2 separate regions of the Homo sapiens genome follow, and region 1 is linked to region 2. The links are contacts of gene promoters, found by promoter capture Hi-C in human tissues and cell types (Jung and others, 2019). All regions are on one chromosome and are shown on one strand. Each heading gives the region's core, a stretch centred on a gene start or on the middle of the fragment in contact. The rest is flanking DNA. Distances are from core to core; before and after follow the strand shown. Region 1 overlaps SPO11 (SPO11 initiator of meiotic double strand breaks). Region 2 holds the start of TFAP2C (transcription factor AP-2 gamma).

Evidence for each region. Contacts are between HindIII fragments. The study calls those that stand out against the background at their distance.
Region 1: a contact is called between a fragment that was not itself captured here and the fragment with the promoter of TFAP2C in region 2, in 1 of the 25 tissues and cell types used here (mesendoderm cells).

The regions. Positions count from the first base shown.
Region 1 is chr20:57,341,501-57,344,200 of GRCh38, forward strand. It overlaps SPO11 (SPO11 initiator of meiotic double strand breaks), which reads left to right. Exons shown (of 13, transcript NM_012444.3): 12 at 1,229-1,340; 13 at 1,841-2,493. The coding sequence ends at 1,960. Among named protein-coding and RNA genes, the nearest start is that of RAE1, 8.4 kb to the right of the region's middle. The HindIII fragment of the contact is 5,962 bases long and covers 1-2,700 here.
Region 2 is chr20:56,627,894-56,630,593 of GRCh38, forward strand. TFAP2C (transcription factor AP-2 gamma) reads left to right here and starts at 1,413. Exons shown (of 7, transcript NM_003222.4): 1 at 1,413-1,699. The coding sequence starts at 1,652. RefSeq lists silencers at 1,324-1,383, 1,440-1,734. The HindIII fragment of the contact is 13,903 bases long and covers 1-2,700 here.

The DNA of each region.
Region 1 (2,700 bases), core at 27-2,526, 710 kb after region 2:
TCAGTAAGAATGAATTTAAACATGTTTATTGGATTTCTTTAAGTGGTGAGCAATCCTTGATAACAGTTGCTTGTTTCCTAAATATGGAATGTGAACAGGTTTTGGGTGATCAGCCACTTCCTATAAAATGAGGGTCCAAGAGGAAACATTTCATTCTTTATTTTTGAATATTCACACTCCACTGGATTAACGTGTTCAATTTAGTGTATGTGTGTCATGGTCAGAATCCCTTGGGGGTGATCTGTTTGTATAAAAACAATTTTAACACAAATTCAAGACATATGATCTGATAATTAGTAAGGTGAATAGCTTCAAGAAACTCTAGCTGCATCTCATAAATTCTATCAGTGCACTAAAAAGCCACTCCAAATGAATATACGATCAAAGGAAAAACACTATGGTAGCTACAGAAGCCAGGCTGCAAGGGAAATCCTCCAGGCCTCCCTTTCAATCAAATTGTCACCCCTATCCAAGAACTGCCCCTGGCAAATGGTCATAATTATGGACACATTGAAAAAGACTCTCCTGGGAAATCTAGGATTTGTGACTTCAAAAGGTAGTCCACACCATAAATCCAGGACCTCTCATGTTCTATTTTTAAAACACATACCATGATAAAGTTATATTCCACGTTTTTCAAATTTAAAACTAGATAGGTAAGAATGTGTTTGTGTGTGTGTAAAGTGATAAAAGTGTGTGTGTGTGTGTGTAAAATGATAAAAGTGAGACACTAACTTCCATGGCCCAGAATCTTCAAATGAATTATGAAGAATTAAATACTCAATGGAACCTAAAGTCCCTCAGTGAATCTCAGCCGTTGGCCATGCATATTGGAGCTCACTGCCAGAAGAGTGTGAAGCTCTGAGAGGCTTAATGTACATTATTAAGCTGCCCTGGTATCTGTATACCTGATGGTAGTGCTATTGGCATTTGTTTAATAACCAATATCAGTCTTCCTGTCATCCTGTCATCATCCCACGAGTGTGACATGAAGGAAAACAAAAACTTTAGAATCTTACTGTGGAAACACAAACTTCCACTATGAACTTGAAAACTTGCTGGTCTAAGACATGACAGATCCCTTCAATCCTGGATGTAAGAGGTAGATCTGTACTAATTTTCTTATTTCTGAGTTTCTTGAAGTAGTACCATAAATACAGGCAAAATACAGGACATTCAAGTTACAGAAACACTTTTTTACTGATTTTTTTCACCTACTTTTTTCCAGATTAAATGTACCTAAAGATAGTTTGATTCCACTGACAAAAAGGGACCAAATGAAACTTGACAGTATCCTGAGGAGACCTTATGTTACCTGCCAACCATTTTGGAGAAAAGAAGTATGTTTCCTTTTACAACTCAAGTGTTGCATGTTTAATTGTCTTTTACTTTAGTAGTGGCTATTCACATCGTATTTTGAAAATATCCCTCTTGAAATTTTATATGACACGACTAACATAAGTGTTGTTTGGCAGTAAATAGTTGTTGAAATTGAGTCATATGAATGCTAATAGATGAGATCAGTGAATGGAGCTGGCCTGTTTGTATCCTTATCATGGTTATATACACATTCTTGATGGCTGTATCATAGTTTGTGGGATTAAAAAAAGGAAGAAGAAATCATAAAGATTTCAGACTATCCCTAATTATTGAAGACAGCATACAGAGTACTCTCACTCCAGATATTTTTAGCTGTAGCAGCTCTGGAATATTCTGGCTGACCCTTAAGACTATTGTCCCTGGTTTTGGAGAATAAAGCAATTCTAGATTACTAGTTTGTTGAATTGACAGAAATGCAACTAAGAACTCTGGTATGAGTACATTTTACTTTTATTGACAGATGGAAATAATGGCAGACTCTAAAATGAAGGCAGAAATTCAAGCTTTGACTTTCCTATCATCAGATTATCTTTCCAGAGTGTACTTACCTAACAAATTAAAATTTGGAGGATGGATATAAAAATAAATCAGAAGAACTTCTGATTGCCAGAGGCTTTTCATTAGTTTTGTTTTGATTGGCAAATACTATTGTGGAAAGAACATATATTATATTCTTAATTCTGTAAAAGTGAAATAAAATAACTTTCCGTTAATTATATATTTTTGTCAAAACAAATGCTGTACTCCAATTTTCTTTGCAAGGCCTTATTCTTGCCTCTATAGAGACAGATTTCTGTCCTATCTTCTAAAGCAAATTATAAAAGAATATGTTATTTTGACCTTTAAATTATTTTTGAAAAAATAATATTTTATACATGTCATCAAAGTCTACAAAATATTTACCTTCTACGATACAACTAATGTTAACGCATAAAGTATCTTACTGGTAACAAAAATCATAATGATCTGAATTTGAGATGTTGCAAATGAATTGTGGTGTCCGGTAGTTTCTTCTTACATTTTCCTTTGCCTTTATACTTTAGGGGTCTTACTCCATTAATTCATTTGTTACATTAGTAAAATTCAGTATGAATAAATATTTGGATTGATGTAGTCTTCAGTGTTTTGCTTTATTTTGTATTGAGCCTATTTTTTATTGATAATATTATTTATTTGAAAAGTTTCTCGAAGGTCTTGAATGCTTCTCTAGTCTGTCTATAGAACAAAAAACTTCTTCAGTTTTAAGATCTACAGAAGCCTCAGATTTTAATAAGGTACTTCTCCAACAGTAAATATGTGACCTTTTCCCTCCATAAACCT
Region 2 (2,700 bases), core at 163-2,662:
ACGCCTATTATTATTATTTTCTTTTAGGCCCACCTGGGTCTAAATAAATGCTAAAGTTCAAACGAACCCGAGAAGGAACAGCGAGGCAGTGGATGCCGCCATTCCGTGGATGGGAGAGTCATGTCTACTGCAGGTGCGGACACCGTACTGATAGGCATTGATTATTGCAAAATCGTATTCAGTATCAAATAGAAATAGTCTTGTCCTCTAATCCCCACAGAATGTTTAAATCCAGCCCAGGGAGCCAGTTGGGGCGTCCCAACAAATACGCCCTCGAGAATTAGCGATGTTCCCCTTACAATGAAAGTCAATTGCTGCATAATAACTGGGCCAAAGAATTTCGTTAGTTTAAATTTTAAAAATTAGTATTGCACTTTGCTTTCAAGTTTGGGTGGCAAGTACCGAAGGGGAGAGGGAAGCAGCGTTTGTGTGGAAGGAAGTTTCGTTTTCTGTCTAAACATGTGGGACCTGGGTGTCTACCTCTCCAGTCGAGAGCTCTCTGCAGGCTCTCTCCCAACTTCCTGCACCTCCTCACCCTCACCTTACCCGTGGCGCTCGGGTTTTATTCCTGCCCGGCGCTTCTTTCCCAGGGCGAGTAGAGGCTTCTGAGTGACCGGCCCGCCAGAGGCAGCTGCAGAGCCGGCGTTCCGCAGGGCAGGGCAGGGCCGGGCCGCTGGGCTGGTCCAGTGCGCGCGGGTTCCCCCTGGCCTCAGCCAGCCGCGGGAGATGCCACTTCGGGCGACAGCGGCGAGACGCCGCTGTCCGCAACTCCTGGGCGGGTAGGACCGTCTGCTGCCTCTGCGGCCCTTGGGGCAGACTCCCCAGGAGTCCCTTCCTCTCTCCTCCCGCCCGGGGGCCGGGACCGCGCTGTGCCCACGGAGGGAACTGGGCGTCTCTGGCGCACTGGGGCTCCAGCTGCATGATCCCAGCTCAGACCTTAAGCCTCAGTGGGGTGTAGGTGGGATGGGATGTGTTTTTAGGAGATGAGGAGACCCCGGTTGTTGAGTCGCTCCCCAAATGCGCAGTTTCTTAACTCCAGGTGACATCCGTCTTTTGGAGGAACGAGTGAAGGCCGTTTAGGCGAAAGAGGGGTGGGTTTCAGTATTTGGATCCCTTCCCCCAGCTCTGCCAATCTCAGGTGTGTTTACGGTGGAGGTGACAGAAGGAAGGCGCGTCGGGGGACCCAGGCCTCGCAGGTCTTCGGCTGTCAACGAGGCACCGCCCACTGACTCCGCGCTTCGTCCCTCACAGCGTGGGGCTCGGCGCTGCGCCAGGCCCGGGTGCGGGGCGGAGCTAGGCTGGGACTGGCTGGGGGCCGCCCCGCCCGGCGCCTGGGCCTCCGCGCCGGCCCCCGGGGAGGAGTTATGATAATTTCCTTCTCATTAAGGCGCTCGGGTCCCCCGGCTATCGCCAGGACACACTGTTCGGGCGCGGCTTTCCCCGTCCGCGGAGCGGTCTTGACACTCGCGGCGGCAGCATCTACGCTCGCAGAGCCGCCGATGCGTGTCCAGTGACCCGGACAGCAAGGCCCGCGCGCGGCGGGGGCGGCGGCAGACGCCTGGTCACCGTGACCCCGATTTTGGATTTACCGCTTGGGGGCTGGGGGGATCCTGGATTTAACTGGCGACTGTTTTGGGGGACGCCGGACGCCATGTTGTGGAAAATAACCGATAATGTCAAGTACGAAGAGGACTGCGAGGTGAGCTGGGGCTCCGGGGTGCAGCCCCGCCCCGCCGAGGACAGTCCGGGAGGCAGGGGCCACTGGACCGAGGTCGGGGACGAGGGCATAGGAGCCCTGGCCTCTCGGTGGGACGGGATCCACTTCTCCGGACACCCCTTAGTCCATTTCTGCGGGGCCCCTTTCCTGTATAGGGCCTTTTCCTAAATAGCCTCCCCTCGGGAACGAGGCCTGGAAAGAGAATGGCAAATCCCACCCACACAGCTTACCGGGCGCTTTCCTAAGCGGCAAACAGCCCTGCTTCCCGTTTTCTCGGAAAAGTGCCCCGTCTGCAACCCTCAGACGTGGCTTTTACGCACGAAGTCTCTGTCCAAAGGGGTCAGATGAGGCTACCTGCTAGCGACACCTTGGCGGACACTCCTCCAAGGCCGGCTTGTCACCTGCCCCGCTACCTCCTCGGGGAAGCACGAAAACAACCGAAGTTTGGCTTTCAAAAGAAGTGGGGGCTGGGGAGTGGTGGTGGGGGTGCCCGAGGCCAGATGGGGCCGTAAGAGCTCGCGAGTGCTCCAGCCTGTCGGACAGGTTGAGCTAGAGTTTCGGAGAGTGGGAGGGAAGAAGGAGGCGGCGAGCGGGAAGAGGAAGAAGACGCAGGCAGCGCTAGGCGAGCTCAGGGGCGCCGGGAGCGCGGAGCTCGGGCTACGGACTCGCGGGAGTTCACTGCGCCTCCGGGCCCTGGAGGGCTGCCCCTGCCCGCAGGCCCGGGCGCTTCCGCCAGGAGGCGACAGCGCCATGTTCCTCCAGGTTCCCGGCGCCCCGAGACCCCTGGGCAGATGGGGACGCATCCTTTAGAAACTGAGTCGGGCCGCCCAGGGGCGAGGGAACGTGCGCGGGCAAGGCTGCCCAATTTCCAGGGTTCTTCATGCCCCCTCTGCGCCCCGACGTGCGAGAACACTGCCCTTGGCAGTGCAGGGCGCCCCCACTTATTACTCCCCTCGGCTGGGCCCGGCCAGCAGGGAGGGCCG